Linked DNA regions of Homo sapiens: region 2 is linked to region 1. Evidence: promoter capture Hi-C in human tissues and cell types (Jung and others, 2019). All regions are on one chromosome and are shown on one strand. Each heading gives the region's core, a stretch centred on a gene start or on the middle of the fragment in contact. The rest is flanking DNA. Distances are from core to core; before and after follow the strand shown.

The links. The method cuts DNA at HindIII sites, captures the fragments that hold promoters and counts their contacts. A contact is called where the count stands out against the background at its distance.
Region 2: a fragment that was not itself captured here is called in contact with the fragment with the promoter of GINS4 in region 1 in 1 of the 25 tissues and cell types used here (small bowel).

The regions. Positions count from the first base shown.
Region 1 is chr8:41,526,431-41,531,205 of GRCh38, reverse strand. GINS4 (GINS complex subunit 4) reads right to left here and starts at 1,945. Exons shown (of 8, transcript NM_032336.3): 1 at 1,810-1,945; 2 at 908-1,022. The coding sequence starts at 1,003. RefSeq lists a silencer at 1,970-2,399. The HindIII fragment of the contact is 17,762 bases long and covers 1-4,775 here.
Region 2 is chr8:40,983,581-40,988,355 of GRCh38, reverse strand. No RefSeq gene overlaps it. Among named protein-coding and RNA genes, the nearest start is that of ZMAT4, 88 kb to the right of the region's middle. The HindIII fragment of the contact is 4,213 bases long and covers 91-4,303 here.

The sequences.
Region 1 (4,775 bases), core at 696-3,195:
CTGCCTCCCAGGTTCAGGTGATCCTCCGGCCTTAGCCTCCCGAGTAGCTGGGATTACAGGCATGCGCCACCACATCCGGCTAATTTTTGTTTTTTAGTAGAGACGGGATTTTACCATGTTGGTAAGGCTGGTCTCGAACTCCTGGACCTCAGGTGATCCGCCCACCTCAGCCTCCCAAAGTGCTGGCATTACAGGCTTGAGCCACCGTGCCCGGCCCTATTGTCTCAATTTTATAGGCAAGCAACGGCTTGAGACAAACTCCCTAACTTGCTCAAGATCACATAACAGAGGAGTGTCACAGACAGATTTAAATCCAGATAGTCTGAACTCCTGTTACCAGAGCATCATGAGATATAAGTGTAAAGAACACAGTTACTGGCACATGGGAAATATGCAGTAAGTCATAGCTATTACAACTTAAAGGAGAAATATTTCAGAAAGGATTTTAGATAAGCAGTGGACATATGGAGAGCAGACGACTCAAGAAAAAACATGTGAGAAAAAGGAAAAATATGACCAGTTTTCCCTTACAGGCATTTCAGCATTTTCTTGCTAAACAGGCATTCTCCAGGGAAACAGCAGATGTTCAAGGGACTAAGGTAAAGAAGTTCAGGGACCTCTACAGTCCCTGAAAATATCACGTGGATCCTTGCTCTGTGAACTGTTCACTGAATGTGCCCAAAGCTGTCCCTTACTGACCCCACTTGGGGATGCTGTGTTTGATATGATGAGGTCTCTAACAGAGGATGTCCTTCTTGCTTCCCGTTTCCATGTAGATGGTAAGATCCAGTCCCTGTTCTAAAGTAAGCCCCAAATTCCGTTTCCTCATCTTGTGATCCCTGATATTCACAGTTGAACTAAATAAAAAGGCTGACTGGAGCAAAGGGATTCGATCTGGGATGCTTACCTGCTCCAATCTTTCAATGAGCTCTGCAGGAGTTAGGACCACTTCCTCACTACCCCCATCAGAGTCCTGTCCCAGGAAATCCACTTCTTCGGTCATCTTCTCTGAAACCAGGAACCTAATGAGAGGGAAAGAACCAATACTCTGCAATGCGTTTTCTAATTATCTGCAAGAACAGACATCTATCTGGAGAAAGGAAAGGTTTATTGAGGTTTCCTGGGGTTGTAGAGGCCCTTTAGCAAGTGGTGAGAGAACGCAGGGACTCTAGTTTTCCAGTGTCTGCCTCTTCCTCCAAGGCTTAGGTCAGGTATCCGTTTCTCAAACAAGCCTCCCCCTTACTTCTGTCCACCAAGAGCTGAGCACCCATCACACCATACAATCACTATTCATTTCTTTGACTTCCCAGTAGAGGTCTTGTTCCTCAGGGACGGGGTTCGTTTTAGTTCAAATACGAATCGCGCCTCTGCTCAGTGCCTGGCACTAAGCACTGGGGACGCAATGACGTGGGAAGCCCCTGCGCTCAGCACAGCGCTTGACTCCTAGCAAGCACTTAACATTATTAGGAGCTGGCCGGGCTCACGCCTGTAATCCCAGCACTTTGGGAAGCCGAGGCAGGAAGATACCTTGAGCCCAGGAGTTCGAGACCAGCCTGGGCAACATAGGGAGATCCTGTCTCTATAAAAACAAAAATTGTTAGGAAGATTAATCAATGCTAATTTCCCAGAGCCACAAGGGCCGGCGACATTAGACCAGTCGGCGATCCCAAAGGCCTAAGGAGGTGGATGGCGGGGACAAAGAAAGTCCCTGGGGTCGCAAGGAAACTGCGAACATCCCCCTCCCCTCCTCCCTCTCAGTGCCACCCACACAGGCCTGCCCTAGCCACAGAGGTCCCATTCGACGCTCACTCGGGGACCTGGGAGACAGCGAGGCACTCCACAGCAGCCGGCGGTAAGGACGGGGCGTTCGTGGGGACGCAGTCGGGGCACCAGGAAGCGGGAAGACAGAGGAACAAACTGCTCAAGGACTTGCCGGGACCAACTCAACCCTGCAACTTCTCAGCTCCCGCGCTACTCTCGCAAAGTTTCCGCCCAGGCACGACGTCATCGCGCAAGGGCGACGCTGACCAATCAAGGCCCGGGGGGAAGAGCGGGGCGGTCTCCTTGGGCCCGCCCACCCGGCGGGCGGGGACTGTCTTCGCGGCGGCCTGCAGTCCCAGCAACCCAAGGACTTGAGGCGGCGGGAGGCTGGTCCGGGTTGGCCCCGCCCACCTGGGGGCCGGCCGCTCCGCTGTGCGGTCCGGGTTGCACTACCCAAGAGCGTCGGGAGGGGGCGCCCGCCACCGCGGCCAAGGGGAGCGGCGGTGTCCGCCCCGGGGGGTCCCACCCAGAAGTATGCTGTTGAAAGCAGGCCGCTGCAGCCTCCTGGGCCGTCTCCACCCACAGCTCTCGTGGCTCTTTGGGTTCCTCCGTCTTTGCGGGGTTTCACCTGTGGTCAGTGTGGTCATTGCCTTCAGAATCTCCAGTATATTCCTTTTCATCTTTCTTGAGACAGGGTCTCGTTCTGGTGCCCAGGCTGGAGTGCAGTGGCACCACCACAGCTCACTGCAACCTCCGCCTCCCGGGCTCCAGCGATCCTCCCACCTCAGCCTCCGGAGTAGCTGGGACCACAGGCCAGCGCCACCACGCCCAGTTATTTTTTAATTAAAAAAAAAAAAAAAAAGAACTGTGGCGGGGTTGGGGGTGGGGAGGTTCTCCCTATGATGGCCAGGCTGGTCTCGAACTCAAGGATCCAAGCAATCCTCCCACCTCGGCCTCACAAAGTGGGTACTGGTTCTTGAAGCCTGGGATCGGACGACCAGCAGAAGCATCGCCTGGGAATCCGTGAAAATGCAGGTTCTCAGGCCCCACCCTGGCCCACCGAATCAGAAACTGGGGGTATTTCACCAGACCCAGGCCCTCCCGGTGACCCTGACACAGCTGAGGTTTGAGAATCACTGCTTTGGGGCCGGGCGCGGTGGCTCACGCCTGTAATCCCAGCACTTTGGGAGGCCGAGGTGGGCGGATCACGAGGTCAGGAGATCGAGACCATCCTGGCTAACATGGTGAAACCCCGTCTCTACTAAAAATACAAAAAAATTAGCCGGGCGTGGTGGCGGGCGCCTGTAGTCCCAGCTACTCGGGAGGCTGAGGCGGGAGAATGGCGTGAACCCGGGAGGCGGAGCCTGCAGTGAGCCAAGATGGCGTCACTGCACTCCAGCCTGGGAGACAGAGCCAGACTCCATCTCAAAAAAAAGAAAAAAAAAGAAAAAAGAAAAGAGAATCACTGCTTTGGGGCAATGCTTTCAACTCACCTTCTGGAGGGGAAAAGCACAAAAACCCATGTCTGTATATGTATATATTTTTTCCATCTTTGTGTGATCCAGTTTTTCTTCTCTGAGTTGCTGATTCTTTTCTCTTTGCTGTCCTTTGTTTTCTGTGCAAAGCGTTGCTTCTGGCTTCCCTAAAAGTATCTCTTCTCCATCAATCTGAGGGCTCTTTGCAAAGCTGCCCTATGATGTCATATTGATTGACTAGTAAAATGATTGGCTAATATAGTATGATCGTACCTGCCTGATTACAATCCTGTTATGAAAATGACAATAGAATAAGCCGAGTGAGAGAGTAGGCATCTTTACAAAGCGCTGTGTAAGCTGGGGCATATCAGCACGGGATTCCCAAAAGGAAGGGACATTTGAGCTGTGTCTTATGAAATGAATTTTGTGAGTGGCAAATAGGTGGTTATTTCAAGGTCTGTTTCAACGGTTTGGTAATCCAGTGGTTTTTGGTTGTGGCAGAGTGTGTTTCCCAAACATAGCTGCTCTAATATGGATCTCACCCCACATACCCTTCTTACCATGTGACATTGACACTCCTCCATCAAGAGGTGGGGTCTATGTTCTCACCTTCTATTTATTTATTTAGAGACAGGGCCTCACTCTGTCGCGCAGCCTGGAGTGCAGTGGGGCGGTCACGGCTCATTGCACCCTTGACCTTCCTGGGCTCAGGTGATCCTCCCACTTCAGCCCCCATGAGTAGCTGGGACTACAGGTGTGTACCATGCCTGGCTAATTTTTTGTATTTTTGGTAGAGGTGGGGTTTCATCATGTTGCTCAGGCTGGTCTTGAACTCGGGCTCAAGTGATCTGCTCACCTCAGCCTCCCAAAGTGCTGGGATTACAGGTGTGAGCCACAGCGCCTGGCCCTGTTCTTGCCTTTTACATCAGGAAAGAGTTTTTTAACTGCTTTGACCAAGAGAATTTGGCAGAAGTGATGCTGCTTGGCTTCTGGGACTAAGTCATAAAAGGCAATGTGGCTTCCACTTGGCTCTTTTTTCTGGAGCCCCATCTCTTGAGAGCTGTGGGCTGACGTGGAAGAAGTCTGGCTAGCCTGCAGTCGATGTGCAAGAGAGTCGATATGAAGATGCCAGGCAGAGATGGGGAGCCTTACTGGAGGAACCCCAGAACCCCAGTTGTTCCATTCTCCAGATGTCTGGGTTGAATGAGCCTTCAGGTGATTCTAGTGCTGAGGCTTCAAACCGTCCCAGCTAAGATGAAGGGAGCAGAGATGAGCTTCTCTGCTGAGCCCTGCCCAAATCGCAGATTTGTGAGCAAAATAAGTATTGTTGTTGTTTTAGGCCCTAAGTTTTGGAGTGGTTTGTTATGTAGCATTAGCTGACTGGAACAGTGGTCTTTGAGCACAATCGCATTCTTCCATAATTCTCATTACCAAATAGCTTTTCAATGATGTTTATTAATATTCCTTAATTGTTACATATTTGAGTCCAAGCATAGATAACGTCTCTACACAAGTGCCGATTATGTAGTTTATTGATTT
Region 2 (4,775 bases), core at 948-3,447, 540 kb after region 1:
TCCTGGATGTGATGTTTACTCATCTTATGACCTTGGACAAATCACTTTCTTATTCTAGTCCTCGAGGTTTTCTGTCTTGTTTTATTTATCTCTAATAATTTTTTAAAAAGTTATTTCATGTGGAAGGCAACTTTATGGCTATTACAGATCAAATCAAAAGTAAAACTGCTCTCAAAAGGGGAGAGGTTGAAGTGGTCCAGAGACCCCTGATTGAGAACCTCCCCTCAGATGTGCACACTAGGTGGCTCGAGGGGCATCTCCATCCCACTCCGAGGATCCTATCCCACCCCATCCTGCTGAACACAGCTGGAAGCCCTGGACCAGGTGATCTTTCAGCCTTTCTGGCTCTGACAGTTGTTGAGATTCTGAGTTAGCCCCTCTGTTGGGAACTGGAAGCAGTAGCTCCTGATCTGCGGTGCAGATTCTAACTCTGTTGGGATCTGGGTGCAGAGAGATAAGGGGGCAATGATGTGGAATGGCGGAGAGGATGAGGAGAAGACAGTGCATGCCTGGGGAAAGTCATTCCCAGGACTGCAGCCTTCCCTGATTCTATCTTGTGTACCTGACTGGGCTCTGCCCGGGACATACCCCCAGGGATCTGCCAGCCATCCTGCTCCAGGAGGCTTCCCTGCAAGGAACCCCAGACCTGTGACCACAGATGCAAGAGGTGTCTGCCGGCTAGGGCTCAAATCTCTTATTTCTGATTGCCTAATGTCCCTGTTGAAGATGTGAAGACAGATGTGATCCAGCATCCTTGGGCCACTTGGTCTGGTGGGAGAAATCACCTACAGGCTCTAATGGGGACTTGGGCAAGGGCCAGTCCAGTCCAGAAGAGTGTGCCCATCCCTCTGTCTGTAGGAGGCCAGGAAGAGCTCGGAGAGGAGCTGAGGTCTGAGCTGTGAATGAAGGCGTGGGTCCTAAGCCAGGCAAAGTGTGGAGAAACGGGGGAGTCAGGAGGGGACCCTCAGGCAGAAGGAATAGCACAGGCAGAGGCCTGGGGGGCTGAGAGAGCACAGGACCTCTTTGAGCATGTGATGTTATGATATCTCTATATCTGTCTCTGTCTCTGTATCATCATCTGCATCTGTATCACCTATCTAACCTATATATGGGTTTTCACCCCCTGTTCCCGATCAATAACTCCCACATCTCTTGTTAGAGTCTTTTGTTGTAATGGCGGCTGTGTTAGGCCTCAGGAAACAGAACCTCTCTCCTGCCCTCCTTTCACCTGCCCCAAGGCAGAATTCACTCTTCCCTGCCTTTCTGACTGTGGGTCTTAAGGTGCTCCCCTGAGAAGCCTCCATCCTATATACCCCGAGGGAAGGAACGCTGATGACATGAAGCTTTCATAAAAACCCAGGAGGATTGAGTTAGGAAAGCTTCCCAACATATGAGGTTCCTGGACGGTGATGCCCAGGGAGGGCATGGAGGCCCTGCACCCCTTTCCCCACACCTCACCCTCATGTCTCTCCATCAGTATCCTTTGCAAAATCCTTTATAATAAACTGGTAAATGTAAGTAAGTGTCTCCCTGAGTTCTGTGAGCCACTCCAGCAAATGAATCCAACCCAGTGAGGGAGTCATGGGAACCCCAACTCGAAACAGGTTGGCCAGGAGTTCCGGAAGCCTGGACTTGCGAGCAGGGAGGGGTGGGCAGTCTTGGCAATTGAGCCCCTAGCCTGTGGGATCTGATGCTACCTCTGAGTAGACAGCGTCAAAACTGGATTAGAGGACCCCAACTTGTGTCCACTGCTTGGTGTGTGTGGAAACACCCCCTGCCCCCACATTTAGTCTCAGGAATCTTCCTCTGCGTTGATGATTGTTCTTCTGGTGTGAGAGCAGAGGAAAAGCATGGGTAAAGGGAGTTTTTCGTATGCAGAGACAGAGTCTGTTTCCATCTGGAAGCTCACGCACCTGCAGCCAGGTCCAGGTGTTCCTCCCTGGAGCCCAGGCTGCAGGAGGAAAAGGCCCCTCTATGGAAGCCACCGGCTTAGCTTTAGTTAATGGCTGGATAATCCCCATTTAGCCAGAAATGATGTCAACCCATTATTAAAATGGTGAGAATCATACATATGACTTGTTCCTGGAATAAATAATCACATCAGACCCAATCCAAACATTTTGTTTTGCTGCTATAGGTATATTTCTAATGCAACAACTGGTTAACCTGCTGAAGGGAGTGCTTCAAATAGATTCTTCTAGTGCGTACTTGATCTGTGCTCCCAGAGGGCAAAGAAAGGGAAAGAGACCTTGGAGAATTCTCACAGAGACTTGCAAGCAAAAGCAGCTATTTCAGTCAGTGACTTCTCTTTTTATGAAAGAAACATTCCGTAAATTACAATTAGGGCCTGGCCAGAAAGAAGAGCTCCCTAAGAGAGAAACTTTCTCATACCTTTGCTGGGCTCATCTTCACGTCCCTGGATGAATCCCTGGATATCCAGATCTCACCTTGGGCACCTTTCTGGAGAGGATCAGGAGGCTGTCATTTGGTTCTTATTTCTAAAATAAATAAATAAATAAATAAATAAATAAATAATCAACATTCATAGCTCAGGCTGGGCAACAGCCTTCCCATCCTGACTGTGTCTCCACCACCTAACACATAGCAGTCTCTCTCCTTTCCCCTCTGCTCTGTGCCTGCCCAAATGCTTATTCCATTGAGACTTATGCCCCCTCACTCTGCCTGCATGGGAGCTGGCTTGGTGAGCAGACTCCTTCATGGACAGGAATATTCATGCCCATGAGCTGCATCACAGCCTCTGCAGCTCTCATCAGGGTTCCTCTCCACAAATCTCTGAGGATGTCCCAAAACCTGAGGTTGCCCTCACACACATTTGAACCAATGCAGCTGATTCTGTATCTGCTCTTTTTAAAAATATGAAAATATGTAAATATAGGTATGTAATTTCTTAACAGATTTACTATCCACTTTTAAGTCTTTTGGCAATAGGAGAGTTGTAATTTACCAATAGTCAGTTACAATAGTCATAAATTAAAATCCTAAATAGATCGCATGGTCTGGGATCAGGGATTTCTGACACTCCCGCTTGAGGAGGATCAGCAGGACATTTGATGGGGGCTGCAGGATGGTGGACTGTGGGCAGCAGGCTTGGAGTCAGAGCCTAAGTCCTACCTCTTTCTTTCCCTCGTGCTGAGCACAGCAGCCAGCACACGGTGGGCGCTTAGCAGCCATTTAGCAAGTGCATGATCAATGTGGCTTCTTTGAGAATTCAAGTGCCTATGTTGATCAAACAAGATGACGGGCTGACAAAAGTCCTGTCTTCGGGAAGGGTCATGCCCGAGATGGTGGCTGAGCATGGGGTGACTTCTAAAATAAGGCCCAGGGATGCGGAAGTCCTCTCCTGGCCAGGCCTGGGAAAGAGCAGGCACAATGGGAGTGATGGAGAAAAGGAAAGGGGCCAATTCTTCCACAGCAGTGGAGCTAGAGCCCTGTCCACAGTGCAGGGGAGAGCTTCACTGGCAGTCCTTCCTCCTGAAGAGGCCTGGTGGCTTTCTCCTTTGCCATCATCTTCCTGGCCTCCAGTGGATCTGGGAGGAAGTAGGGCATTCTCTCCATTCCCGGGGGTGGGGTCGGGGTGGGGAGGAGGCCTGGGGCTGCTGCTTTGCCTGGACTTGCCCTGATCAGAGTGCCAGCCTCCTGAAGGAAGCTCTGCCTGGGGGTCAAGGAGGGAGACCGGGAGCGTCCACCACTCTATATAAAGCAGGTCAGCTGCTTACGCATGCTGGATCACACTCAAAGCCACCAGTCGGCAAGCGTTTCTGTAAAGGGCCAGGCAGTAAATCATTTGAGTTTTATGAGCCTTATGGTTCCTGTTGCAGCTACTCTGTTCTGCTGTTTTAGTGCAAAAGCAGCCACAGACAATACATGAATGTATGGGTGTGGCTGTTTTCCAATAAAATTGTATTTGCAAAGTGTGCAATGGACTGGATTTGGCCCACCAGCTGCGGTTTGCTATTTCCTTCTGGAAACATCTGGAAGCTTACGTCTCTGACAAGATGACTTGAATTTTTTTTTTTTTTTTTTTTTTTTTTTTGTGATACAGAGTCTCGCTTTGTCACCCAGGCTGGAGTGCAGTGGCACGATCTTGGCTCACTGCAAGCTCTGCCTCCCAGGTTCACACCATTCTCCTGCCTCAGCCTCCCGAGTAGCTGGGACTACAGGTGCCCGCCACCACGCCCAGCTAATTTTTTGTATTTTTGGTAGAGATGGAGTTTCCCCATGTTAGCCAGGATGGTTTCGATCTCCTGACCTCGTGATCCACCAGCCTCGGCCTCCCAAAGTGCTGGGATTACAGGCATGAGCCACCATGCCCAGCAATTTGATTTTTGTCTCTATTTTTCTGGCCTTGTTTTCTATTTGCTGAATCCCACAGATCCTGACGTCTGTGTGTCTTATTGCCGTGGTGTCTGCTGCCTGGGCTGGACTCTGGCTCCGAATGGCCCTGGCACAGCCACACACCCATGGAAATGGAGAAGGTGCACACGGAAACCAGTGGAGAGCAATGAGCGAAGAGAGTGGAGCTGCCCAAGAAGGAAGATGTGAGTACTTATCTTGGGTGGATTGATGAGGAATAGCAGTCCACCAAGCTTGTTTTCAGAAAACTGAAACTCAACTGAAACTGCTATTTAGAGTCTCCCTGGCACAAAACCAACTTTACAGTGTTAGATTTCTCCTGGGAGGGATTTGCAGAACTCTTGTCCAGGCTGGCTTACATGTCTTTGAGAGTTTAGGTGAAATCTCTTGACTTTACTTTG